Regions from separate parts of the Homo sapiens genome. Here regions 1, 2, 3, 5, 6 and 7 are each linked to region 4. The links are contacts of gene promoters, found by promoter capture Hi-C in blood cells and fetal thymus (Javierre and others, 2016). All regions are on one chromosome and are shown on one strand. Each heading gives the region's core, a stretch centred on a gene start or on the middle of the fragment in contact. The rest is flanking DNA. Distances are from core to core; before and after follow the strand shown.

Evidence for each region. The method cuts DNA at HindIII sites, captures the fragments that hold promoters and counts their contacts. A CHiCAGO score of 5 or more calls a contact.
Region 1: a fragment that was not itself captured here is called in contact with the fragment with the promoter of ONECUT2 in region 4 in 1 of 17 cell types (endothelial precursors); the score reaches 6.0 in endothelial precursors.
Region 2: a contact is called between a fragment that was not itself captured here and the fragment with the promoter of ONECUT2 in region 4, in 2 of 17 cell types (endothelial precursors and erythroblasts). The highest score is 10.2, in endothelial precursors.
Region 3: a fragment that was not itself captured here is called in contact with the fragment with the promoter of ONECUT2 in region 4 in 1 of 17 cell types (endothelial precursors); the score reaches 8.8 in endothelial precursors.
Region 5: a fragment that was not itself captured here is called in contact with the fragment with the promoter of ONECUT2 in region 4 in 1 of 17 cell types (megakaryocytes); the score reaches 5.9 in megakaryocytes.
Region 6: a contact is called between a fragment that was not itself captured here and the fragment with the promoter of ONECUT2 in region 4, in 1 of 17 cell types (endothelial precursors). The highest score is 6.0, in endothelial precursors.
Region 7: a contact is called between a fragment that was not itself captured here and the fragment with the promoter of ONECUT2 in region 4, in 1 of 17 cell types (endothelial precursors). The highest score is 5.4, in endothelial precursors.

What each region holds. Positions count from the first base shown.
Region 1 is chr18:56,806,110-56,810,340 of GRCh38, reverse strand. All of the region lies in intron 19 of WDR7 (WD repeat domain 7), which reads right to left. Among named protein-coding and RNA genes, the nearest start is that of WDR7, 160 kb to the right of the region's middle. The HindIII fragment of the contact is 246 bases long and covers 2,809-3,054 here.
Region 2 is chr18:56,761,933-56,765,935 of GRCh38, reverse strand. The region is part of intron 16 of WDR7 (WD repeat domain 7); the gene reads right to left. Among named protein-coding and RNA genes, the nearest start is that of WDR7, 110 kb to the right of the region's middle. The HindIII fragment of the contact is 3,497 bases long and covers 173-3,669 here.
Region 3 is chr18:56,712,025-56,715,878 of GRCh38, reverse strand. The region is part of intron 12 of WDR7 (WD repeat domain 7); the gene reads right to left. Among named protein-coding and RNA genes, the nearest start is that of WDR7, 63 kb to the right of the region's middle. The HindIII fragment of the contact is 4,528 bases long and covers 1-3,854 here.
Region 4 is chr18:57,433,403-57,437,597 of GRCh38, reverse strand. ONECUT2 (one cut homeobox 2) reads right to left here and starts at 2,224. Exons shown (of 2, transcript NM_004852.3): 1 at 654-2,224. The coding sequence starts at 1,881. RefSeq lists enhancers at 1-223, 2,338-2,917, 2,918-3,498 and a silencer at 2,295-2,344. The HindIII fragment of the contact is 9,553 bases long and covers 1-2,608 here.
Region 5 is chr18:56,695,803-56,699,890 of GRCh38, reverse strand. It overlaps WDR7 (WD repeat domain 7), which reads right to left. Exons shown (of 28, transcript NM_015285.3): 12 at 3,429-3,649. Among named protein-coding and RNA genes, the nearest start is that of WDR7, 46 kb to the right of the region's middle. The HindIII fragment of the contact is 6,848 bases long and covers 1-4,088 here.
Region 6 is chr18:56,826,309-56,830,590 of GRCh38, reverse strand. The region is part of intron 20 of WDR7 (WD repeat domain 7); the gene reads right to left. Among named protein-coding and RNA genes, the nearest start is that of WDR7, 180 kb to the right of the region's middle. The HindIII fragment of the contact is 1,348 bases long and covers 2,147-3,494 here.
Region 7 is chr18:56,730,348-56,734,155 of GRCh38, reverse strand. It overlaps WDR7 (WD repeat domain 7), which reads right to left. Exons shown (of 28, transcript NM_015285.3): 14 at 2,559-2,773. Among named protein-coding and RNA genes, the nearest start is that of WDR7, 81 kb to the right of the region's middle. The HindIII fragment of the contact is 3,592 bases long and covers 1-3,207 here.

The DNA of each region.
Region 1 (4,231 bases), core at 1,682-4,181, 630 kb after region 4:
AGACAGTAAAGGGGTAGGAGAAACTGAGAATGGACAGCCCAAATTACCACACTCAACTCTCAAATCCAAATGGCACAGCTCATTTAAAACTAATTTTAACCATTTGCTTTAAGGAAAATCTGATAGGTGCTTTTAACTTTTGAAGTTTTCAGCCATATAGTTATGGTAGAAGACTATTAAAAACCATTATTTAATACTTCTAAGCAAGGTAGTCATTATCTGCAAAAGAAGGAATAATATTTTTTAAAATTCCCAGCCATAAACCTGGCTATTTCTACTTTCTACATTATTTAGTTCTATCAGGACCTTATGTTAATGGATCGAGATAACAGTAGACTTTCTGTAAAAGGCAAAACAAAAATGAAATCAGTGGTTGCCAGGGGTTAGGAGTGTGACAAAAGGATTGACTATAAAGAGGTAAAGCAAAATTTTTAGAACAGTGAAAATAATCTATACCATGACTATTTACATGTGTTTAAAACTCATAGAACAATATGTTTAAAAGTGTGCATTTTACTATATATATATATACTTCCAAAAACTTAGCTTGTTAAAAAAACATACAATAGAAGGCACTACATCACTGTCACAAAAGAGAATTGAAGACTATGCCAGAATACAATGCTATTTTCAACAAAACACAGAGACTAGAAAAAATAGTTTTAGTTCTCCCTGCTACAAAAAGCTTAGCCTTTGTGTACTATCCACTACCAAAGAAAATGAAATATCCTTGCAAAAAAAAATAAGAGTCCACTAGGAAAATATATTTATGGAAATTTCAGGGTATTTTGTATATCAAAGTTATAAATATTGTCAATTAATTATATGGTGATATTTTGGTATATTCTTTTGTACTTGACATAAGTGAGCTTATTTGTCAAATTATACCACACAAGCTACGGTTTACTTACTTTCTGAGTATTTCCAAAATATTTGACAGTGATGAAAATCTCATAAAGGTTCAATAAATACTGAATACTTTATCTCATGGCACAAATTGCGTTATTTAAATATACTAGAAAATAACAGTAAGGGTACTTTGGGGAAAGAGATATGATAAAAAGAATAATAAGGAAATAAGGAGAGTAAAGAGATATAATAAAAAAGAAATACAATTAACAGAAAGACATGAGGCAGGTAAAAAACCAGTGAGTATCCAAATCCAGATTTCACAAAATAAAAAACCAATGTACATTATACCAAACAACAGTTCTCAATAAATGAGTTTTATATCATGCATCAGGAGGAAAATGGGGGCAGAGGGGGAATGGAGTGGGGCAGCAAGCTGGTATGAGTAAGTCTGGACACAACAGTAAAAGGGAAGTGGGAGGGTTGTAGCTAGTAGAAGTGAGAATTAGAGGACAAGAAAGACTATGAGATCCTCACGCCATCTAGATTTCTAAACGCTTAGATAACTCTTCATTACGAAAAATCTATATACATAAAACTTCCCAATTTTATGCAATATTTTTTAAGCCACTTCAGAAGTTTTTTAAAATATAAATATGGATATGCCATCTTCAAAATCAATGGAATTAAACTACACTCAACTAGCCCCACCAGTAAAATTGGGTATAGTATTCTAAAAATTATCTTTCATAAGCTTGTAAATTACCTTTATGAATTTTTTTCCAACTGGCTAACAATATCTGAGTAATAATAAATAACATGAACTCACAAGACTACAGTGTCATGTGATTAACATGAAATGCGAGAACAAAATACTAATTTTTAATATAGTAACATGTAAAAACCAGCACTTTAACCAATATGGAAATATAAAACCACTTCAGTTCATTATAGTTTCATTTTTTTATTGAAGATTAGATGGTAGTGATAAACACTGCTAGGACTAAGAATGGAGAAAGATATTTATAAATATTAACAAAAATTCTATTTCTCATTCTCAGTAATATAGATTTCCACTGAGATTGAAAAATAGATCCAAAAGAATGGCAGATATTTTTATTTCATCAGTTCCTCACAACTGTGGTTTTCCAGTCGTCCAATTAAAGTACACTGGAGGCAATAATTTGATATGAACATTTACTGTGAATGAGGTAAAATTTAACAATAAGGGAGTATGTGAGTATCTACAGTTTCTTTTCAGGCAGAAGGCCTGAATTTATTGGAAGCAGATCTCTGCAGTGACTGACCAACACTGCCCCACATTCCCCACAATCCTTATGACAGACAGACAGCCTGCCTCACATTAATTCACTTCACACCACTTCTATCGATCCACAGCCGGTTCCCTAGTCTCTCTGCACACATTGCCTGTCTGGCTGCCTACATCCACATCAGCACATACACACAAAGGCCATAGAAAGATAACCTTTTGCTTTCCATTAAAGACACAGTATCCACTTTTCCTTCTGCAATAACATCAAAAATATGAAATTAACAGTATAGATGTCTTGTAGAAAAGCCTTTCTGTAAGAAATTTATCCCTTATTCTGAATAAAGACCACTTCAATTTATCAAAAACAATAAAGTTAGTTTATTAAAGTCCACAAAGTAATTAGAGAAATAAAAATATAATTTAAAATAAGCAGAATGTCTTCAAGCTCAAATAACAATGTAAGAATTATTTGGTAACACGAGTTTTGATCTTTGTTTATGAACAAATGAAATACATTTTTTCCTAACTAGTATTTTTTTTTTTTAGAAAACTGCTCTCATATAAAATGTAATTATTAGCAATTCTGAAAGCAACAAAAGGGAAACATTTACTGAAAAATATGTAAGTAAAATAGAAAACAGGAAGTGTACTGTATCAATAGAATATTAATGGGATAGCATAAAGCTTTATTATTTCTCTTTCCCAAAAATATCTAAAAATTGATCCATCATTTAAAAAATCAAGCCTGATGCTTCTAATTACTGCATGTATTTTTTCAAAAATTTCTGTGAGATTTGCAGGATATGAGCTGACAACACCAATTTTGGTTTCAAAAGACACAAAAAAACCAAAGACTATGTTGTTCAACCTATAAATTGTTATGAAACAAAGAAAAAACCGTTTTGATACACAACTGTACTAAAGCATAAGCTTAACATTATAACCTCTGGCTGATTTAGAAACTCAAACTATAAGCAGAATTACATATCTCAGAACTGTGCTTAAAGTATGTTCTTTTAGATAAGAAGGTACCTTTGAAATCCTTCATGAATTTTTTTTTTTTTTTTTTTTGGCTAGGATCACCTAGGCAGAGGTTACATCATCAAGTGGTGACAAAAACAGTGCACTCACTACATTCAGTACCTTACACCTGTTGTTATTTATAACAGCAAGCTGCTTTGGAAATCAAAGGGAAACTGATGAAGGCTGCTGAAGTTGATGGCTTTAAAAAGGGGATGTTAAGATGTGTATTGGGCATGAAGGGTGGGATAGATCTGAGTAACAGAGAGGCTGGCATTGCCAATATAAGTAAAGCAAGCCATTAAAATGGTAAACATAACCGTGCAATAGGTATAATAACTGTGCAATGGTATAGGAAACAGTGCAATGTTCCCTCATTATACTAAACACTCAAGGAGCCTCCAGGCTATTATGCAACAAGCCCTATACCAGAGATTAGAGACACAAAAGTACAAAGACATACCCTTAGCTTCCAAAAAGTTTATATGTAAACTGAGGGAGTCATTAAATAAATTTAAGCACAGAAAATATCTTAATTTTATTTGTGTTTAGAAAGGGCTCTCCTGTAGCAATGTAAAGAATGACTTGGAGGGACTCGGTGAATGAAGGTAGCAATGAGGCCAATGATGTAAAACCGTGCTACTGGGAGCCCTAGTACTTCCTTAGAAGTGCCAGAAGGGAGACCTCTACCCTCCCCATCCTTACCTCTATGTGGTTGTGTGTATGCATGCATGCACACACATGTCCACATGTTTTACAGAAGTTTTCATTTGAAGAAAGGATACCGCTTTTCTAAAAGTCTGAAAATCACTGATCTATATATTTTTTTAAAGACAGTACTTAATGGAGAGAAAATCAAGAGTAGTTTTCAGTTAAAACACAGAATGGTAGGGCTGTTCTCTGAGCATGGCGAAGGCAGGAGGAAAAATTTATTCATTTAACTTTTTTGAATGATAGTTATTCTAGGCAAAGAAAATAAAAATGAAGGTAGGGAAACACAAGGACTTTACACTAGAGAATCTAATAGCCATAATGAAAATACAGATTTATCAATGAATAAGTGAAAATAGTTCACATATGGAGAAAAAT
Region 2 (4,003 bases), core at 672-3,171, 670 kb after region 4:
GGGCTTAAAACCTAGATGACAGCTTGATAGGTACAGCAAAACAACATGGCACATGTGTATCCATGTAGCAAACCTGCACGTTCAGCACATGGATCCCAGAACTTAAATAAATAAATAAATAGATAGATAGATACATACATACATACATATATACATACATAAAAAGAAAGCTTAAAGTAAGTCCTTTTGTTAGAAGAATTTTACCAGATAGAAGTCTTGATCTACACAAAGGAATGTAGAATACCAAAAAAGGTAACTACGTGGGTAAATATGTATTTTTTCTTATTTCAGTCTCTTTAAAATATAATTACTGTTAAACACAAATCACAAGAATAATTTGTGAGGTTTATAACATATATAAAAGTAAAATGCAGGACAACAGTAGCATAAAGACCAGGAGATGAGAAATGCTAATATAATATTATAAGGTTTAACATTTATATTAAATGTTAAATAGTATAATAGCACTTGAATGTACACTGTGATAACGGAAAGACATAGACTACAGACTCTAAAAAAACTACTAAAATAATAAAAATTAGCTTATAAAGCCATAAAGGAGATCAAATGGAATCATAAAAAAAATCTTTTTAGTCTAAAAGACAGCAGAAAAAGAAAAAGAACAAAAAATAAATGCAACGAAGAGAAAAATAAGGTAGTAGGATAACAGATTCAAACCTAACCATATCAACAATCACATTAAATGTAAACGGCTTATGCATCTCAAGTAAAAAGCAGGTCAGATTGGATTAAAAAATAAGACCCACTATATGCTGCCCACAAGAAACACATCTTAAATATAAAGAGCCAAATAGGTAAAAAGTAAAAGGATGAGAAAAGATTATACTATGTTAACAGTAGCCAAAAATGCTGAAATTACTGTATTATTATAAACAAAGTAAATTTCAAAGCAAAGGACATTACCAAGGATAAAGAAGGTCATTTCATAATGACGAGGGTCAAATAATCAAGAAGAAATAAAAATTCCAAAGGTTTATGCACCTAATAAGAGAGCTTCAAAATACATGAAGCAAAAACTGGGATAGAAATGCAAGAAGGAATAAACAAACCCATAATTATAGCTGCAGATTCAATACTCTTATTTAATTGATAAAGGCAAGCAGGCAGAAAAATCAGCAAGTATATACTAAACTTGAACACGGGCAACTTGACCTGACTGACAGTTATAAAATATTCCACCCAACAACAGCAGAATACACATTCTTCTGAAGTACACACAGTATATTTACCAAGACAGACTATATTTTGGGCCATAAAACAAGTCTCAATAAATTCAAAAGGATTCACATTGTATAACATGGAGACTATAGTTAGTAACAATGTATTATATACTTAAAAATTGCTGAGGGAGTAATTTTAAGTGTTCTCAACACACATAAAATGATACATATATGAGGTCATAGATATGTTAATTAGCTAGATTTAGCCATTCCACAATGTACACATGTATCAAAACATCATGTTGTACACTATAAATGTACGCAATGTTATTGGCCCATATATAAACACAATCAATTGAAACAAATGCCAAAGGATTCAAACCACACAAAATATAGTATCTGACCATAAAATGAAAACCAGTAACAGACAGATCCTAGGAAAATCCACAAGTGTTTGGAAATTATATTAACTGATTACTAAATTATCCATGGGTAAAAGAAAAAAATCAAAAGGAAAATTAAAAGTACAATATGGCAAAGTGTGTGTAATGCCACTAAAATAATACTTAGGGGAAAATTTGTAGCATTGAATGCCTATATTAGAAAAGGAGAAAGGTTTTAAATCAATGATCTCAGCTTTTACCTTAAGAAATTAAAAATATAAGAGCACATTTAAAATAGAAAAAATAAATAATAATCAAATCAAAAACCAGTGAAATAGAAAAATAATAGATATCAATGAATAGAAGGCTAGTTCTTTGAAAAGATCCATAAAATTGCTAAACTACAAGACAGACTGATCAAGAAAAAGGGAAAAAACATAAATTATGAATAACAGAAATGAAAGAGTGAATATAATTTCAAATCCTACAAATATGATAGTAAAAGCAAAATAAAAGATTACACACAACTTTTTGCTGATAAATTTGACACAAATGATCAAAGTTCACCCAAGTAGACATTTTTGAAAACAAGCAGAATAGCCCTATATCTATAATACTTTTAAATCCGTAGTTAAAAACCTTCCCATAAAGAAAACCCCTGGGCTTTCACTAGTGAATTAGATCAACCAAATATGGAAGAATTATCAACCTACACTCACCCGTCCAGAAAATACAGGGAAAGGGGCTACTTCCTAATTCATTCTGTGAGGCCAGCATTATCCTATCAGCAAAACTGGACAAAGGCATTAATAGAAATGAAAACTAAAGACCAAACTTCCTCATGAACTTACACATGAACACCCTTAACAAAATTTTAGCAAATTGTACCTAACAAACTATAAAATTGGTAATTCAAAATGTGGTCTATATTGCAAGGTTGTTTTAAAACTTAAAAGTCAATATACTTTGTCTTATTAAGAAAATAAAAGACAAAAATCAAATAATCATTTCAATAGATGCAGAAAAAACATCTGAATAAAATCTAACATCTATTCATAATTTTTAAAATCTCGACAAACTAAGAATAGAATGGAACTTTTTCAACCTGATAAAGAACATCGAAGAAGGCCAGGCGTGGTGGCTCACGCATGTAATCCCAGCACTGTGGGAGGATCACGAGGTCAGGAGCTCAAGACCATCCTGGCTAACACGGTGAAACCCTGTCTCTACTAAAAATACAAAAAATTAGCTGGGCGTGGTGCGGGCGCCTGTAGTCCCAGCTACTCAGGAGGCTGAGGCAGGAGAATAGCATGAACCCAGGAGGCGGAGCTTGCAGTGAGCTGAGATCGCGCCACTGCACTCCAGCCTGGGCGACAGAGCCAGACTCCATCTCAAAAACAAAACAAAACAAAAAAACAAACAAACAAAAAAAAAACTTTATTCGTAGGCAACCCAAGGTAAAAAAAAAAAAAAATTCTTACTAAGGTAAGAAAAATTGGACAAAAGATATAAATAGGCATTTCGCCAAAATGGACATATGGATGGCAAACAAAAAACAAAACAAAACAAAAAACAGCACACTGAATCCAAAAAATGGAGGAGGATGTAAATAAAGAGCAGAATTTAAGGAAGTGGGGAAAAATATGCACTAGAAAGGATAAAGTCAAATTGAGGTCATTAAAATGACTAATAAGATTGATAAACCCCTGGTAAGACTGATGAAGCAAAAAGAGAGAAGACATAAATTATTAAAATCAGGAATAAAAACAAGGACATATTACAGATACCAGAGAGATTAAAAGACAATATTATAATCTCAAATGTCAATATATTTGAAAATTTAGAATCAGAGAAACTCCTAAATATGTACTACTTAACAAAACTGACACCAAAGAAACAAAATCTGAAAAGTCAATGAGATAAGTTGAACCCAGAATTAAAAACTGCCTACAAAGAAAACTCTAGATCTAAATCCAGCAAATTTAAATCTAGAGTTTGAATTTATGAAAGAAATGTTGCCAATCTTATACAAACTCTTCATGAAAATAGAAAAAAAAGAAAACATTCCACAACTCAGTTTTTGTAACCTGAATAATCTGAAAGCTTCTAAGGACATCAGAAAAAAAAAGTTTTCCTAAATAAAAAATATTAAATCAAATACAATAATTTATAAGAAAATAATACATCAAAACAAAATTGGTTTTATTCTAGGATGCAAGATTGGGTTTATGTTCTAAATTTGCCACATTAATAGAGGAAAATTAAAAGTTATACAATCATCTCAATCAATACAGAAAAGGTATGATAAAATCCAAATACACTGATGATAAACATTAGCAAAGAAGGAATAAAAGGTAGCTAGTTTCTTAACATCTACAAAAGCATATAGGAAATATCATAATTATGAAAGGTTTAAAAGTTTTCCCTTTGAAACTGGGA
Region 3 (3,854 bases), core at 635-3,134, 720 kb after region 4:
ACAATATTCTATTTTGCAACATCGATCTGCCAAAAAGTGGTCATTTTATTTATTGCCCTCATCAAAGAAACAGTTATCTTTTTCTACGGGTATAATTAACTTAAAGAATGATGCCTAAACAGTATTCCTTTTAATCTGTTCATGTCCTCCCATCAGGCACTGATCAGTCACAGTATTCACACACCCAACACTACTGTTTTATATCTATAATATTTAATAGAGCCTCTATGTTGCCCAGGCTAGTCTTGAACTCCTGGGCTCAAGCAATCCGCCTGCCTCAGCCTCCCAAAGTGCTAGGACTACAGGCATGAACCACCGCGCCTGGCCACTGACCCTACTTTTGATTCTGCTACTTAGACTCCCAAACTCTCCAAAATCTTCTTTATAAAGAGCTAATCCCTAATTAGTGCCACACATCTAACTGACCTATTTGCTAGTCCCCACGTCGAAAGTCATTTCATTCATGCTCACATATACTCTAGTCATTCCTTTCCAAAAAGTAGAGAAAATGAAGTATGAGTCAATATGAAGTTTTGCCAATATTCTCTACTATGTTAGGCGTTCCTAAAATTCTGCCCTACTGGAGATCTCAACATCTGAGGTGACACAAAGCTGCTGACAACCACTGAGCTACGCATACTCTCTCTCTCTGTCAAAGATCTCCTTACCATAGTTTGTAATTTAGCAGAGAGAGGACTAGAGCCATTAAGCAAAGAAAAAAGGTTTTCTCATTCTTATGAGAAACTTGACCTTCCGCATTATCAACCCCTCATGAGAAGTTTCCCTGTCAGAACTTTCACCCTCCCCACAGATACACAGGCAGATAATTTCAAAGATTTAAGAAAACGTAATCTATCTTCATAAGACTTAAAAACTCTACATTATTACTCTCATGTAGTAAAAATAAAGGACATACAAAATGAATATTAAATAAGAGCATAGGATCTGCTTTAAAAAGTAGATTATGAGATGTAATTTTCTGAAGGTTAAAAAAAAGAGCTTTAACACCAAGATTCTAGCTTTTCATTTCTACATGACACATTCTCCTCTGACACATATATTTAACTAAATATGTTTTAAAGAATACTTTTATTCCCCTTTCACATAGTGTAATAATGAAAATTTGCAAATAACAAGCTCAATCTACAAAAAACTGTTTGGTCCAGGCCGGGCACAGTGGCTCACACCTATAATACCAGCACTTTGGGAGGTCGAGGGGGATGGATCACCTGAGGTCAAAAGTTCAAGACCAGCCTGGCTAACATGGTGAGAGCCCATCTCTACTAAAAATACAAAACAGTAGCCGATGGGGAGGCTGAGGGAGGAGAATCGCCTGAACCTGGGAGGCAGAAGTTGCACTGAACCGAGATCGCACCATTGCACTCTAGCCTGGATGACGGAGTGAGACTCCATCTCAAAAAAAAAAAAAAAAAAGTTTCGTCCAAAGTAAACATGATATACCATCTCTGTAAATGATAATAAGTATCTAAAGAGTTAACTTTAGCTTTACTGTAATAAGAAAGACTGGAAGTAGCCAAAATAATCAAGAATGAAAACAAAAAAAAATCAATATTACTAAGCCCAAGAAAGCATAGTTATTAGAGGTACTTAACTCACAAGAAAAGATGGTTCTGTGCTTTTTAAATATGGATTAAAATAAATCTAATTTTTCTTCTTTCAAAAAAATGCTAGTCCAACTCATATAAAGAAAACTGGCCTGAAGTGGAAATGACCCAATATAGTAAAACCTCATTAATTTTGATTTCACTAATTAATTCTGAGGTGATGGCTACCTTTGCAGCCTGTGTGAAAACAAATTAATGGTATAAACAAAGCAAATGTCTAGCTTATTTAAGTGTAAAAGGAAAAAAGACTATTCAAGCAACATTTCATATTAATTTTAAACAATGAACAGAGTAATAATAAATAATTCTCAGCTTTCTGTTAAATAAAAGCACTTAAAAGTTCTGATAAAACACAACTTGGTTTCCTCTTATCTGTCCTCAAAATTATTAAAGCACTTCTTAAAGAATACTTTATAACTCATATTTCTTCCTGATTTACACCCAGCTTCTTCACAAATGAGTTAAATTAGCACAATTCCTTTATTATTAAATTCTAGAGATCTGGGTTACTGAACACCTATTTCACCTGCAATGACTCATTCTATAATTTGATTAATTCCATTCTACTTCATCTTTTTCCATTTCAACCTCGAAAAGTCACCTAAACATGATTTAACACCAATGGCATTATAACAAGATAATGTATAAAACACTTAAACTGTATAAGTAAAATAATAATACAACAACTAAAAAATGTGAACCTCTTATCTTTAAACTTATTTGAAAAATATTTATGCCTCAAATTATTCCTATTACACATGCATTAAATAATTTTGAAATGTGTTCCCAATAGTTGTATATTTATAAATTGTATATGTGTAATTCTGTGCAATGTATCACCTAAATTGTAATAGATGCACAAATACATATATTTCAAAAGGATGACTCAAGGTTTAAATAAACAGATTTAAGAATAAACATTTCTCAAATGTCTCATTAATGTGAGTAACTTCACATTACATTAGCCAATATCTCATGTCACAAAATAGATCCTTAGGAAGGTTTCCTTATTAATGACAGTGGATGTAAATACAAATTTCATATAATTATAAATTTTTTGCTGCCCTCCTGCCAGACTGATCAAATGATCATTAAAACTTGTAATATAGCCGATGAAGAGATTTTTCATTAGAAATATCTCCCATCCATATTTTCCCTGCCCATTTTGTGATGGCTAGGTTTAGAACTATATAATATAATCTGCAAATCCCTTAAGCAAGCACATTTTAAGTGGAAACAAACAGGATGAAAGTAACTCTGGCACCCCACTTGAGGCTCACCCACTCTTGCCTGAGATGATGCGTGTCCCTCTGGTATGCAAAACAGGTGAGGCCACCAATGCCCCTCCTTCTAGTAAATGTTCATAAAGCTCAATTTCCTAAGATTAAAAAATAAGTAAGTAAAAGTTCTAAGATTTTCTTCCTATACCTCCATTGACTGTCTCATCTATTCTACTTCAGTAACCGCTGCTATCAACTGACTTAAAGAATGTAAACATAAAATTCCCCTTAAAAATTTGTATTGTTATGGAACAGAACTTATGCAGCACAGATGAAGTATTCTATCAACTTAGATAGTATTTTACAGGTGAAAGCTATTCAAATTCATGTTCCAAACACTGTATTCATTCTGCCCTACATGCAATATGCACCAATGACATCAAATGCCAATTAAAAGTAAAGGCTAACAACAATCAACAGAATATTTAACCAAGTAAAAACTCTATTTTTATTTTATGAAAAAGCAAGGAGAGGGGAGAAAATACTGGCCCAAAACAAGTATATTCTTAGGTCAATTATTATTTTTCAAATAATTATCATCCTAAGCCAAATAAAGGCTCATTGGATTTGCCAGTAAATAATCCTCAGTAGTGCTGAACAGCAGAATGCCACAAGCTATCACAGAATCTGACAGAGTCAGAATATACCACCTAGGTCACCCAGTCTGACCTTACACATTTTACAAGACTTCATTTTAAACCATTCCCAGAAACCTCTTATGTAACCTGTTCCTAAGCATCTGCCATGAATTACAGAAATCAGAGACAGCTAGTTTATCCCATCCACTAGCTCTCTGGGGAGATGACTCCACTTTCCAACAGCTCCCAGTGTAAATAATAGATATTTTTTATTTTCTATTTTTGCTAATTTGTTTTTCTAAACTAAATTACTCTTTTTCTTCATATCATTTCAGAAGCAATGGTCTTATGTGCCCAAAACAATTTTTCTC
Region 4 (4,195 bases), core at 975-3,474:
CCTGCGCCAACGCCAAGGCCAGAGATGGGCTCCAGGAGCGCTGTTGTATCCTGGCCGCCGGTTCCCCGCGGGGGCAAGGCTGTGCCTTCAGCCAATGACCAAATAAGTTTGCCTATATGGTGGGTGGGAGAGTAGAGAGCTCTTTTCCCTCTGCAGAGCAAAGCCTCTCAACTGCCTCTGCACAGGGAGACTAGTCAGCCCGGAAAATTGAAATGTGTTGTCTAAAAGAGACTTGAAGTGCATGGGGTTTTGAATAAGGGCAGGTCCTGGTTTCTGTGGGTCTTGGAAAGACAGGGCTCCTAGAGGAAAACGCACACCCCCATCCCGCCTCCCAGTACCTGGGAAGATCGGAAATAGGGCAAAGGTTGGCACATTGAGGGGAGGGCGAATGAAATGGGGGGGGGTCGGTCAATGAAAGCTCAGGGACAAGGAGAGAGTAAGAAAGAAAAAGAAAAGGGAGAAGGGAAAGTAGGGGAAGAGCGGAAGAGAAAGAGAAAATGGAAGAAGAAATAAAAACGAGAAGAAAGAGGACGTGTATAGGAAAGAGAAGGAAAGAATCAAGAGAAGTGACTCGGCGCGCAGACTTGGGCCACAAGCACCGGACCCGGAGCCCTCTTCCCAGCAGCCTGGCCCCTGGCTAGCCCCGGCCTTACCTGCCAGGCGTAAGGCGGACATGCGCTGGAACTCGGGCTCCTGAAGCCACTTCCACATCCTGCGGAAGGTCTCCCTGCCAGATTTGAGTTTACTCCACGGTTTTGGATTCCGGAGCAGGTCGGAGAGAGTCCCCTGAGACCGGCACAGCACCCTCTGCGCAAAGATCGCCTGGGGGATACTGTAGCGCTTCAGCTCCGCTGTGATGCGCTGGGCCACCTCTTTGGTGTTGATTTCTTCCAGCTGGCCCGACGTGGCCACCTGCGAGCCCGATGAGGACGAGGGTGGCCGCTCGCGACTGGGTGCCAGCACCGGCCCGTGAGACTGAGTGTGGCCCGGGTGGTGCAGGCCGTTCAGGTGCGACATCATGGCCGCAGGTGGGGTGCCCAGGCCGCGGGACAGGTGTTGCTCACCGCGGGTCAGCATGGCAGTGTGGTGCGCGTCGAAGTTGGGGCTGAGCATTTTGTCGTGGCCCGGCGGACCGTAGTTGGGCAGACTCTGCTGCGCGTTGTGGAGGCCGCCTAGCCCGTTGCCCAGCGGCGTGGCGGCCAGCGGGGACAGGCTCTGGCTCATGCCGGGCATCTCCTTGTAGGGACTGTAGAGGTTGTTCATGGCCGGGAGCCCGCGCTCGTCGCGCATGAGGGTGAAGCTGCCGCTGACGTTGCCGGACAGGCGCTGGTGGTGGTGGTGGTGGTGGTGGTGCGGATGGTGGTGCGGGTGAGGGTGGTGGAACTTGTCAGACACGGTGGAGATGGGTGGCAGCGGCTGGAGCGGTGTCAGCGTGGTGTAGGTGTTGCTCATGCCCATGCCAGGCGGAGACGAGTCGCAGGACATGCTCATGGCGTGGTGCAGCGGGATGGAGAGCTCGGGCCGGTAGTCGCCGCCGTCCAGGATCGAGGCCATGCTGGTGACCATGGCCGAGCGCGACGCCGCCGCTGCCGCCGCTGCCGCCGTGCCCAGCTCCTGGTGCGCGGTTGGAGGCGGCGGAGGGCCCCGCAGCGAGCCAGCGGCGCCGCGGCCCGCGTGGTGGGGGCTGGGGCTGGCCAGCAGCTCCTGCTCATGGCCCGGGCCCCCGCCGCCGCCCCCGCCGCCCCCGCCGCCGCCCCCGCCACTGCCGCCGCCGGCCGGCCCGTGCAAAGTGCCCAGACTTTCCATTGTCAGCTCCGGGTTCATGGCGCAGCCTTCTAGGTCTTTGGTGAGGCATCGATAGGCGGTGTAGGCAGCCTTCATTCAGTCCATCAGGGCCCGGGGGCGGCGGGGGCGGCGGGGGCGGCCGGCGGGCGGGCAAGGCGCGCGTGGCGGGGCTCGGCTGCGGGAGTGGGGGCGGGCGCGGGAGTGAGTGGAGAGGAGTGCGCGTGCGGGTGTGCGCCCCGGGCTGCGGGCGGGCTCGCCCGGGGTGGGGGCGGGGTGGGGGCGGACGGGGCGTGCGTGCGGGAGAGGGGAGGGGACGGGGAGGGAGGGAGGGATCACCGGGCCCCGCCGCTCGGGCCGGCTCGCAGCCTCGCCATGTCCGAGCCCGCTCCGGCGCCGACGTCTTCTGTTTGGGTGAGCGGGAGCTGTCCAGAAGGGCTCTGCCGCTCGCCGGGGCAGCCAACCTACCCTCCCGGACCTGGGGCGGGGCCACGCCCGACGGGCGCCAAGCGCAACCACTCCGAGGCCGCAGCTGCCCCGGGAGGCGGGCCTTCCACGGGAAGCTACCAGTGGCTGTGGAGGGGGCGGGGCCGCACTTTTCAGGTTTGGCTGACGGCTCGGTGCCTTTTTTACCTCCTTTGCTACTGGAATCAAACGTCAAGGAGAGGGAGGGAGGAGAAGGTGGGGGGGTCGCTGGGGAGAGGGAGGCTGGAGTGCGAGCGAGCGAGAGAGATTCGGTGAAAGATGCCGTGCTGTGTCCCCCCTGAGCAGCTGCGATCTGGGGGAAGGGGCATTGCTTCAATCGCCTTCGCCTCACCCCAAAGCTTTCCTGGAGGCGAGTAAGCCGGGAGCAAAAGACTCCGCTATGTGCCAGTATAGACAAACACTCGTCACTAACAAGCCACTTACCGAGAGTCCCTAGCTGGGAGCCAATAGTTTAGCCTTTTAAAATGCAGGCGCTAATGTATTCTAATGCATGGTAAATTCCCGAGGCCGGGACATGCATAATCTACGCGGTCAGAGCAACTGTAGTGCCCTCGTCGCCAGCGAGCTGCGGCCGGCCGGCGGCCCACGGGCGGCGCGGGCAGCAGTAATGCATGCAAAGTTAACACAATAACATCATTTAATTACCCGGTGAGCCCATAAATCTCAGTTATGAGGCTTCCGAAGAGCCCTGCTAGATTGCAAAACAAAACTAGAATTCCGGGAGCTGCCGTTTCAAGGTGACCAAGTGCTTTCTGCATCAGCGACTTGGAAAGAAGTGGGGAGAGTGTAGAACCGGTGAGGTGGAGGTGAGGAGGGTCGCTGGTGTCCCAAGTGAGCAAACTTCTCCTGGGGGCAGAGAGTAAGCAAACCAGCTGAGACGGCAACCACGGACCTTTCTCCTAACACGAGACACACACACGCGCACACACACACACACACACACACACACACACTCCCGCTTCTCTCAAATCCCGGGAGAGAAACGGCGGTGGGCAGACGACAAGGAATCCTGGCTGACACCTGCATATTCAAACCTTGTTTCTGAAAAGACCAGCGCCCCGGCCAGCCTGAGAACGCTCACAAGCCAAGGCTTTAAAAACCGCACCTACGTCTTCCTAGAATTTCCGTTGTTTGGCAACCCCAGGTCTGGAGGTGGGAGTGGAACTGGGGGACAGAGAGTTGGAGATTTCTGCAGTCCGAGTCGGGGTGGAGGGGTAGTTGAAGACAGAGAGGCCAACACCCGGCATAAAGCCTTAAACGTAACAAGATTCTTCCAAAGCAGGTTGCGCTCTGTTTGCCTCCGAAGATTCAAGCTAGCTGAGGTTGCGCAGATGTTGCCTTTGTTTAAAGAGACAGTAATTAAGGACAGGGTGGACATAAGTTTGAGAAGCGTGACCTATTTTCTTTTGATCAGCTGTCAAAAGAAGAGCAGGGGGTCTCCTTAAGACAGCCCCCTTCAACCACTTCCAGCTGTTAGAGAAAACTTGATAAGAAAACAAGGGCAGAGCTCGGAATACTGTATGTCCCTTCTTGGTGCCAGAGAAAGGTTTGATTCATTTGGAAAACAGTTCTTAGTCTCAGTGACCTTTTCTGCCGCCCTCCTCTCTCTTCTTGCTTCAGAGCAACACCCCCACCCCCACCCTGTCACATGAATGTACAGTGACGTTATTCATAGATCAACTTCATTGAGCTCTGGCCAATACGCTGCCAATTATTCTTTCAAATAGCGTCTTCTCTGTGTTATCAAAGCCTGAGTAAGAAAGCGGCAGATCCTCTGGTTTGCCAGACATACTTTTCTGGTTGCTCACATCTCTAGTGTCACAACAGGAGCCAGGTAAAATAACTCAGATTTTGGTTTCTCTGTTTTTCCTCTCCTCCTCACCCCCTCCTACTGTCTCTCTTCGCACTCCCTACCTTATATATGGCA
Region 5 (4,088 bases), core at 953-3,452, 740 kb after region 4:
AAGGGGGTCTGGAGTCTGTCTTCAGAGCTCATCTCCAACTTCCAGCTGCAGCATCTGTTCTACCTAGCAGACAGTTTTTCACTTTTTGTTTACTATCTACCTAAGTTAGGAGACAAATAATGAATTATTTAGCTGAGTACTTTTTCTTAACAACTTTGTACGTTTTAGGAAACGTGAAGTGTGACTATAAAGAGAGGAGAAATCATCAGCTTTGTACATTCTTATTCACAGTTAAAGTAATTTTTACACACAACTGACATTTCTCTGTTTTAGAATATCTTTCCTGAACAAATAATTACAAGAAGTCCAAACTCAACTTCCACCTGAATTCACCTAAAACCCAAAACTATTCTAATAAACAAAACAGATGACAAACTCTTCAGCATTTATCTCTAATCATTACTTTTGGTAAATATTTATAATCTTTCAACTACAATTAGCTGATCAACTATCTCAACTACTATTGCCCAATCAAAACGTTTAAACAAAAATAAAAATATATTCTGCTAAAAAGAACAGGACACTGGGTCAATTTATGAGAGGGACTATTCAAGCATTAGAATCAGTATATGATGTAGCAAACTCTAATCTCAGCCACACATTTTCTAAACATTTAGCAAACATCAAACTCTGCTTTTTATTAAGCAATTAGGCTCTTTGATCTTTAAACATACTTGCTGATGTGCATAAAACCACCTAACCAGCTAACTGAACAGGTTATTAACTAGGCAGTCATTATTTATTTGCTAAATTACCCCACAGCTAAAATCAAGTATCTTTGTCTTTATCAGGACTTTTGAATAAGAATTTTAAAATTTCTTTTTTTTCCTTTTTATAATTTCAATTTTTTAAAATTTAACTTTCATTTTAAGTTCAGGGGTACATGCACAGGTTTGTTATACAGGTAAATTTGTGTCATGGGGGTTTGTTGTACAGATTATTGCATCACCCAAGTATTAAGCCCAGTACCCATTAGTTGTTTTTCCCAATCCTCTCCGTCCTCCCACCCAAGAAAATTTCTATTGTTAAGCATGTAATAACTAAATTACAAATTGCAAATACATTATTTTTCAAGTACTAGACTTCCCTGTCTAGATCATTTTTCCTCATATTCTCCAGGCCAACTACCGCTTTTGGCTTGTCCAAGTTTAGTAGCGAGCCCATTCTCCGTTTAGTTGCATATATGTCTATTAGTATTTTATTCACTACATTTTATTTTTAAATACAAATAGTCAAAAACATTTTATTATTTTAAATACCAATCTGAATTTTTTTTTTTTTTTTTGAGACAGAGTCTTGCTCTGTCACCCAGGCTGGAGTGCAGTGGTGCAATCTCAGCTCACTGCAAGCTCCACCTCCTGGGTTCACGCCATTCTCCTGCCTCAGCCTCCCAAGTAGCTGGGACTACAGGCGCCTGCCACCATGCCCAGCTAATTTTTTGTAGTTTTAGTAGAGACGGGGTTTCACCGTGTCAGCCAGGATGGTCTTGATCTCCTGACCTCGTGATCCGCCCCTCTCAGCCTCCCAAAGTGCTGGGATTACAGGCATGAGCCACCATGCCCTGCCCACTTGAAATTTTTTAAAAGAAATTTGTTTAAAAAACACAAGGGAATATATAAGCTAAAAAAATGTATAATTAACATATTCAAATAGAGAGCATGACCTTGTGTAAGCCATTCCAAACTTTTTTTTTTTTAAACAGCGTTTCGCTCCTGTTGCCCAGGTTGGAGTGCAAGGGTACGATCTCAGCTCACTGCAACCCCTGCCTCCCAGGTTCAAGCAATTCTCCTGCCTCAGCCTCCTAAGGAGCTGGGATTACAGGCATGCACCATCACACCTGGCAAATTTTTTGTAATTTTAGTAGAGAAGGGGTTTCTCCATGTTGATCAGGCTGTTCTCGAACTCCCAACTTCAGGTGATACGCCTGCCTCAGCCTCCCAAAGTGCTGGGATTACAGGCTTGAGCCATCGCACCTGGCCCATTCCAAACTTTTAATCACATTTGTAATTTAAAGAAAAACTATATCTTATTCTATCTAATATTCTATTATTTTAAATATTTTATTCTCTCACACACACACAAAATCAATCAAAACAGAAATGGTTGTTCTAAACTAGTATAGAATTATCTAAATAATCAATTTTTGCATTGAAAAATTAGATATTTCACCAAATGTGCATTCAGAAAAGAAAATTGTCATGTTTCACCATAGGACATAACTACTATAAAATGAAGTTTAGGAGAGGGGTTGTAACAATACCTTAATTTATTAATGTAATTACAATAATATCTATTTCACCAAAATATGACATAAAATTGGTTAAATACATAGCAGTTTTTCACAGTGAATAAGAAATTAACAACCTAATTGGAAGAAAGGAATAAAAAAGAAGGAAGAGAACAATTAAGGAGGTAAATTTGCAAATCTGCCAGGAAAAATAATGAGAAACATTGGTACTAGGATTTCTTACAAAGCCACCAATATCAAATCAAACAAAATCTAGCACTGGCAGAACATGGTTGATAAAATAAATTATCAGGAAGATTAAGCAAGTAAGCAGAAGGGCCAAGAAAAATTTTGTAGATTTTGAAATGAGATATCTTGTAGATACTGCAGCAGATACACCAGTAAGACTGTTTTCAATTTCAGTAATACCAGAGCTGGTGACGGTGAATGAATTATGATAAGCATGACTTGTCTACAAGAAGACGATGTCTCTATATGTGCAAACAAATGAGTGAGTGTTGGGAGACAGTGATTATGCACACAAAGATGACTAATCACATGAATAAGTCCCATGATTAATAAACAATAAAAAAAAGTACTGTTATCAGTCCTAAGCCCTCCTAAAATCTCATATTTCTATTTATAAGACATCACAGCCTAACTTAAAATGCATCAGAAAGCAATCTGGTTCCACAAAGGTATGTATGAAATTTTCCAAAATCATCATCAGTGACTGTTAGGCTTTGTCTCCCTTGTTAACAACAATTTTTTATTTAAGTGAACTCTATCGATAAGTATTTTGCCTTTACCAACATATATATTCATTGTCTTTGCTCAGATGGACCCAAAAATAATGAGATTGTACAATGTCTTCAGGCATACTTAAATTATTTTAAAATGTAAAATTGAAACATCATTCAATAAACATTTTCTCAACTGCTGCTATGTTTCAGAAAGAAGCCAGACCATTTTGAAGCTAGTAAAAAAACACTATGTCTCTCTTCTGTTTCTATGTGCCCCAATAGTTAGTGGCCGTAACTTTGCCTAAATGTTACTATTATTTTAGTTTTAAAATTGAAAGGGTTTTCTTAATTATCTTGTCACACTTCCTTTAAGTTAGTCTAGATTCCATTTACATTCCTGATAGTAATATAACTTGGCTCTACCATAGTGAAATAATCTTTTATATAAATCAACTTACACTACAGTTTTCAGGTGGAACTAGAAGTTGAGTAATCTCACCACCATGAACACAGAAGATATGTTTCATTTCTCCAGAAAATATGTCCCAAATTATGACTGAAAAATCCACACCTCCAGATATCAGGTATCTTTGATCATACCGAGCTGAGACCTGATGAGGATATAGCAAACATGTGACTTTGTTCCGATGACCACGGAGTGTTCTGTGAGGTGGCCAACCTGTGAATGAGGGTTTGGATTTAAAATGGGAAAATTAAAGGTTTACCAAGTTTCAGTAAGTAAAAGTAAACATGAATGTTTAGAATAGCTACAAATTATATCACAGCAAAGGCTTCCAATTTTATCTTCTAACACAACTCTGCCTAATTCAGTATCTACTAGCCACATGAGACTACTGAGCACTTGAAATGGGGGTAATCCAGATTCCTATGTGCTGTGAATTTAAACTAGTCATGAGATTTTGAAGAGTTGATACAAAAAACCTAAAATATTTCATCAACAATCTTCATATTGATTAGAAGTTGAAATGAAAATAGTTTTTGCTATATTGGGTTATATAAAATATAGTCAATTTCAACTGTTTCATTTTATTTTTTAACACAGCTATTAGGAAATTACAGGTATGGTTATATATATATGGTTGACATTCGATTTCCAC
Region 6 (4,282 bases), core at 1,571-4,070, 610 kb after region 4:
GTGCAGCGCCCAGAGGTGATCTAGAGGTAGCACCATGATGGTGATTATTACTAGTGACACGCTGAACTGGGCTGTATGGCCGGAATTTTCTTAACAGATCTTTTCCTATTTTTTAGAAGTCCTCTTCCCTAATTCCTAAGTCAATTGATAAATTCATCATGAGAAAATAATGAGGGCATTAGCAATGATGCTTGAGCAAGTTTGACAGTAGTGAGTAATGCCAAACCAAATTTTAAAAAAATTCATCATGAAGAATAGCTTTCCATGAACAGAAGAATGACCCCTTCTATTGTGTGCCGTGTATGGTGAAAACCCATAAGAGTATAAATGTCATTTTATGATGAATCGTATACATTTTACACCAAAACATCAAAATTATTTTAGATCATGAAGGGCAACAAAATCAACGCAACTGAAACACTGTGATAAAATTCAAGAGTGTGGTAAACTCAGGGCACCTGTACTGCATCTCACTTTTTCTTCTAAGTGCTCCCAAATCATATTTAACAATTCGCTGCAGACTTCCGGTATATGTGGACAGTACACTAACCAATTTAGAGCTGCTTGGATCCAATTTTCCCCATTTTTTAAAAAACAAAGACTTGTTGGACATTTGACTTTAGAAAACTCTGTGTTGTTATTTTCTAACTTTTCAATTTTAGACTTATCTATCTTTAAACTTATGATCCTCAACTATGGTCAATAAAAATTGGGTTCTCCTTTACATAAACACAACTTGCATACATCACATACACACTCCACATTCACACATTCACATACCACATTCACACGCTTTCTCCTGCCTTCTTCCTCCTGTGCCTCCCAATTTATATCACAGTTCTTAATAAAATTACATCATAATTAAGGTTGATAGTTTCACAATCTGTGCATGTTATGCATAACTCAATCATGTGGTTTTTGATAACTTTATCAGCACTGCTTTTTTTCCCTCCTTGCAGTCAATAACTGTCTTTTGTTATTTACTTGATTCTCTTTATATTTCAGTAATTTATCCCCAAATTCTCACCCAGAAGTGTAAATCTGTTATACAAGGGAGTAGATTCAGGAGCAGAAATCAAGCCTACCCTGGAAAATGGAACAGTTAGAACTTGCCAAATATCCAGAACATAAGGAAACTTATTAAATCAATACAGTCACGGAGACTTTCCACATGGGGAGGGGGTGCTGGACTTTGCAGCCTAAATGCTTCTCTCTCAGATTTCCCTTTTCCAAGTAACCCTCAGGGTGGCTAGGTTTCTGAGGGTTACAGTCCTATTTTGTGTGTGTGTGTGTGGTAGGGGGAGGTTGGGGTTTGTTTATTATTTTTTTTTTTTACAGAAGGCCTCCCTCTGTCACCCAGGCTGCAGTGCAGTGGTGCAATCATAGTGATCATTTTGTCTCAGCCTCCCAAGTAGCTGAGACTACAGGTGCACACCACCACACTCAGCTAAATTTTTTTTTTTTTTTTTTGGAGAGGTGAAGTTTCACTATGTTGCCGCGGGCTAATCTTGAACCCCTGGTCTGAAGCTATCCTCGTATGTGAGCCACTGTGCTCAGCCCTGAGCAGCATGTTCCTAAGGGATGTTGCCTAAAACAATGAGATGGGGGTTTGAAAGTATCAAGGGGCAAGACAGGTTTTATAAGGTTTATATAAAGGGTTATATAAAGATTATCTGGATCACTAGATCCTCAGCTTCCTCTTTCTTGGTTTACTTTCTCAATTTTGGAGGCACACATCCTCCACTAGTTCTTAAGACATAGGAGGCACATTTTTTGATAACCTGCATTTCTAAAACTGTCTATATTCTACTCTCACATTTAGTTGAATTTTGCTGTGGTACACCGTGCTCTGTTTTTGAACACACCCTCTTAAAAACTGAGCTGATGACAAACCATCCTTTGCAAGTATGAGAGTTATATTAAACATTCCCCCTTTTATCTTTCTCGGCAAGACTATTTAATGATAGTATGGTGAAGATCCTCTTTTAACCTTCAGATTTTAAAAAATATTTTAATTAATATTTAATATTTTAAGGTATCTTTCTCCATGGACCATATCCGTCTTGTCTATTATTTTTCAAACATGTTTTCTAAAGTCTAGTAATGACTGTCAACTAAATGGCCACATCAGAACATTCGGAAAGCTTGTCTCCATTATCTCTCCTTTTTACCCCTCACTTCACCATTGGCTGAACTCAGCTATGCATATGCAAATTAACTCTTCCTCAGCTACTTTTTCTTTTAAAGCTGCAGTTATGTCTGTTTCGTCAAATAATTCACCTTCATGGTCAAATTCAACTCAGACAATAAATGTGATAAAAGAAATCAATATAAAAGTGTTTAAGAAAATATAATTTATCAATATTTCACGAGCCAACTTTTATAAATTTGTGAAAATTTGAAGTGGTAGTTTGGATATGGCTTAGTTCTTGATCTGTAAAGTATAAATGTTTCTAGCAAGTTTATATCCTTGTAAAGGATAGTCAAACTACCTAGAATAAACACCACTAAGTCACTCAAAACTGATTTATAAATGATGTTAGTTATCAACCATTTATGTTATTAAAGCAAATCACTTAAGGATGATGGTGGTAATGAGAAGGGAAGTGAGGCAAGAAGCCTATCATATTTATTGAGCACTTACTATGCTCCAGTTCTTCTAAAAACATTCCATGCATCATCTCATTTAATCCTCAAGACAATCTTTTTTGTTTTTTGCTGTTTTTTTTAAATTTTTCATTTTTGTGGGTATATAGTAGGTGCATATATTTATGGGGTACATGAGATATTCCAATACAGGCATACAATTTGCAATAATCACATCATGGGAAATGGAATATCCATCTTCTCAAGCATTTATCCTCCATGTTATCAACAATCCAATTACACTCTTTTACTTATCTTTAAATGTACAACTAAATTATTTTGACTATGGTCACCCTGTTGTTCTACCAAATAATAGGTCTTATTCATTCTTTCTACCTATTTTTGTACCCATTAACCACCCCTCCCCCAACCCCCACTACCCTTCCCAGACTCTGGTAGGCTCTCTACCCTCCTTCTACTCATGGACATAGGTCCATGAGTTCAATTGCTTTGATTTTTAGATCCCATAAATGAGAACAGGCGACATTTGTCTTTCTGTGCCTGCCTTATTTCACTTAACAGAATGATCTCCAGTTCCACCTAGGTTGTTGTAAATGATTGGTCTCATTCTTTTTTATGGCTGAATAGTACTCCATTGCTCCATTGTGATTATGTCCCACATTTTCTGTAGCCATTCATCTGTCTCCTAATAACCTTATTATCCTCATATTTCAGGTGAGAAAATTGAGGCTTAGCACAGTCAAGTAACTCAAATAAGGGCATACAATGAACAAGTAAGGAAGCTGTCCTTACAGTCTGTCTGCTCTGGGCAAGGCCATTCTTCTTCTCACTCCCTCCACAGCTAATTATTTCTAAGTCTGTAAACTAACAGCTTGAGCTTGGAAGCTTTTCCCATGTCTCTCCACCTCCGCAATAAGCGCAGGCTTACCTCTTACATAACTCCTACCCTTAACTAAGCTCAGTACTCTGAATTCTCCCAGCTACAGAGAATATGCACATATATGTCATCTGTGCACTTGCATGCAGACATATCTAAAATTTGATCATTGCCTTCTCATCTAGAGGCTTGCTTTATTAAATCCCCCATAGAATGTGCTGATAGAAGACATAAGGCACTTATTCATGTTTTATTGAATAAAACTGAATATTCCTTATACTCCTTTTCAGTGGTACTAACCACACTGAAAAAATACATTTACAGAAAGGGTAAACAAAGAAAGAGTAGCTGGTTCTGATTCCCTGAATCCTTTCACACTGGATTTAATTCATCCATCTTTATTTAGGATAAATAGTTATAACAAAAAAGATGAGAAAATACTCTCAATATTTATCCTACCTATGAGTGAGGACTCCTCTTTCTAGTATGTCACGTGAGGAGAAAATACATTCAGGTTTATGGCTATCTTCACTTCAAATATTAAATATTACCTTTCATTTGTAATTTAAAACTTCAAATTAAGAGCAAAAGCTTTTACACTTGCAAGTGACTTGAAACCAAGAAATCATGGGGAAAGTCACAGATGATAGTAAATTTAATTATCTTTTTGTGTATTAAAAATGACTATGAAGTATCAGGAAGAAGGAGTCTTCAGAACCCGACATCTATTTTAAAACCTGTTTTTCCCCTTTAACATGGTTTGCACAGTAAAAGCAATCATTCACAGGTATGACATAG
Region 7 (3,808 bases), core at 162-2,661, 700 kb after region 4:
GGAAGAATGCAAAACTGAGCAAAACTTCCTTTTGCAAAGGAAGAATGCAAGTTACTAATGAATGCTCCACATCTAAAGGTTCATGAACACAGCCTTGAGGCTGCAATGCAGGGGTCTTAAGACAATCAGTTATGAGGGAATGGCAAAGACAAGGGCAAAACAGCGAAAGAAAAGGCTCTCTGCACTTTCTGTTCCACATCATCCAATTCAACACATAGTTATTGCACAGCAGCTGCTGCTAGATGTCATGGAAAAGCACAGAGATAAATAAGTCAAAAATCCCTGCTCTCAAAAAGACTGAATTTCAGTAGGGAGAATTAGATAAATATATAAGTTATCATAATATAAAGAAAAAAATACATGTCATAAGAGAAATGCAAAGGGTTTCAAATATACACAATCTTACAAAAGACTCCTTCACAGTAATAAAGTATTTTACTTAATACCCTCTTGATCTTCTACTGTGAGAAAAAAATCACAGGATAGTAAATTCTCCATCTTTGTGAAGTTTTCAATGTCCAGTATAATTAACATAATTAGCAAAATAAAATATCTGTTACTTCCATATAGCCCTGATTGCTAACACTATGTTACCAAGACAAAAAGCAGCACTTTCTATAGAGTATCCCAATACAGGCTTTGCTTTCCATTGAAAGACTCATGTAAAAAATTAGATCCAATATCCTAGAGTAAGTCCTGTACCATTGAGAAGCTCTTAGTTGTTTGTTTTTTACTTTGGGTGGGTTTATTTCTCCTGAGGTTAGAAAGCTATCCAGAGGACAGCTCTTTAAATATTCTCTTCAGAAGGAACCTCAAACTCAACATGAGAAAATAGTTAGAGAAATCCCTAATGGTCCAGCCAACATACATTTTTTATAAAGTGATTATCCTCCTGCAGCTTCAGCTTCCTAAGCCTTTTTCCTCCCTTCTATAATTGTTTTCCTTGTAGGCCAGGCAACAATTACCACTGCTACAAGACTAAGGAGGTTCACAAGCAATATATTTTACAATACATAAGTGTAGTGTCTCTGATATCTGGTGCTTTTATCACTAATTGCGCTATAAAATACGCTATTAAAACAGGGACAAACAAGATTGTAAAAATCACATAATGGACCACGACCACTTACAAAAGCCATTCATAACTGTTACTGTACCACTTATTTTTCTTTAATTTTCAAGTTATATAATTATTTTTCCAAATTTTTACTTCTAGGGGATACCATCAAGAAAAAGAATATATCTGGGAGTTACACCACATGCATGCATGCTCTTAAACATATTGTTTTATAAATTTGCTCAAAATCAAATTACATATCATGTCAGAAAATGTGCTATGAACACTGAATTCCTAGAGACAGCTACAAGATTCCTTGGAAGTAACTGAAGGTATGGCCAATGCTTTCAGCTGTGATTTCTTCACAAACTTTAGGGTTTGCTACTGAAAGCACAGAGGAAAAATGTAGAATGATTTCACAGTTCCAGTTGTTGAAATATACAATACAACATAGCTGATAAAACATTTATATCTTGAGGGAAGAAATAATGATCAAAGGGTGACATTACTGCGAACTACTGGAGGATGTGGGTCAGTGGAACTGCCTACAGTATTTCATGTATCATCAGCACGCACGAACTCATGGTTAATTTTCAAGTCTGCAGATGAGCCTTTCAACCCCTTTACTATTTATTCACATGTCTAACCATTTAAAAAAATGAAAATCAAGGAGAGACTAAAATTAAAAGTATTTGTGCCTATTCATTAATAACTCTAATGAATATTTAGATGGAACTAGAATTTTAAGTAGTGATTGAGATGAAATATTGAGATTGTCTCTAGGTTTGATTTATCCATTACTAGAGACAAACTAGTGCTAATTATACCACATGACACAAATACCACAGACCAAACAGTGGCTAGACTCTACAAAACTAAAGATAAGTAACCAATTCATGAATTGGGATTGGTTTTTTTAATAGGATCATCTTCTGTTAACTGAAGAAGTAACTTATACTTTATTAAGTGTCAGTAAGGAAAGTGTGTTTGAGCTTGGGTCTCAGAAAAATTTCAGTACTTCTGCAACACCATCATACGTATTCTGAAACATTTTCTTAAATCTTTACAATCGCTTAACCTTACTAAAATCAGAACCTAATTTTAAAACAAATGATACATCACAATTACAGACATCTTAATTGTACCTAAATTACTTTTTTCCCTCCTTAGGACATTAGCTAGTGCTCAATCTTTCAACAGAAAGACTACCAAAAAGTAAGACAGATTATATACAGTTGGTTTGCCCTAATTTCAGAAACTAAAGTCACTTAATTCAGTCGGAAGAATTTAAAAATATTTGAATGGTAAGAATAATATACTTTTCCAAAATGCCAAGTACTTGAAAAACTCAAACCATGTTGGATAAACCTAAATGAAAATCAAAAGTTTATTTTTCAAGGGTCATTTCTCAAAAATTATTTTCTAAGATATGCCAAAGCCATGTTACTAAATGAAGTTAAATGGGGTCTACACACTTCATGGGCCCACATATAAAACTTACCTTGTCAGATGCCTCAGAAGCCAAGAGGTTAGTTGCAAGGGTTTGTAGCTTATGATGGGCCATATTTTTAAGAGCAGCAAGACTACGTCTCGTCATAGCTTGTTTTAGGTTGACTGCTGGATGACTAAGTGAATCAACAGCAGCAGGAACAGCTTCATCACAAGCGTTTAGAATCTCAACTGCTGTTATCCCCATCACACAACGATCCAATGCACCTGCGAGAAAAATATATTCACAAATATTTCATAACACTACAACATTTTGAATAGTTTAAGTAAAGAAAAAATGGTATGAAAATTTTTTAAGTAGAAACATGTTTTATCAATGCCTCCTGGAAATTTTTTTTTGTACTTCCTTCCTCTAACAATCTTCCATGTAGTACCTACCACCTCAATGAATTCCTCTCCCACAAAGTCCCTGATGCAACTTCCCAATAAAGTCAAGTTCAGAGCTAAGATTCCAACAACCTTCTCCAGGCTTTTCCACTCTTTCTACCTCCCAGATGGTTTTCTTGACTACTCCTGTCCCATCGCACCATTACAAACATTAAAATCTATGATTTGACCTTCCTCTAAGTTGTATATCAATCTTAAACGAAAAAAGTCTTACTAAAATTTGTTTTTTTCCTCATTGAATAATTGCTGAAGCTTCTCTAAGAAACTTCCACAAAACAGAAAAAATATTATAATTTCTACATTTTGTCTGCAAATTCTTGACTCTTACTCTCACCATCCAGCCAAATGTTTCTTCGTATGTTTGTGGAAATTACCACTACTTCTACTTACAACTACTTTACTTATTTATTTATTTATTTTTTATTTTTTATTTTTTTGAGACAGAATCTCGCTCTGTCGCCCAGGCTGGAGTGCAATGGCGCGATCTTGGCTCACTACAAGTTCCGCCTCCTGGGTTCACATCATTCTCCTGTCTCAGCCTCCCGAGTAGCTGGGACCACAGGTGCCCGCCATCACGCCCGGCTAATTTTTTGTATTTTTAGTAGAGACAGGGTTTCACCGTGTTAGCCAGGATGGTCTCGATCTCCTGACCTCGTGATCCGCCCGCCTCGGCCTCCCAAAGTGCTGGGATTACAGGCATGAGCCACCACGCCCGGCCTACAACTACTTTAACGCTTCTTTATTTGGCTATCCTTTCTGTTTATCTCCATCTATGCATTTCTTGTCTAAGTCACAGCAAAAACTTCCTCCAATGTGAGCTTCACCACCTCCTTCACCCACCTTTCAAGCTCTTAA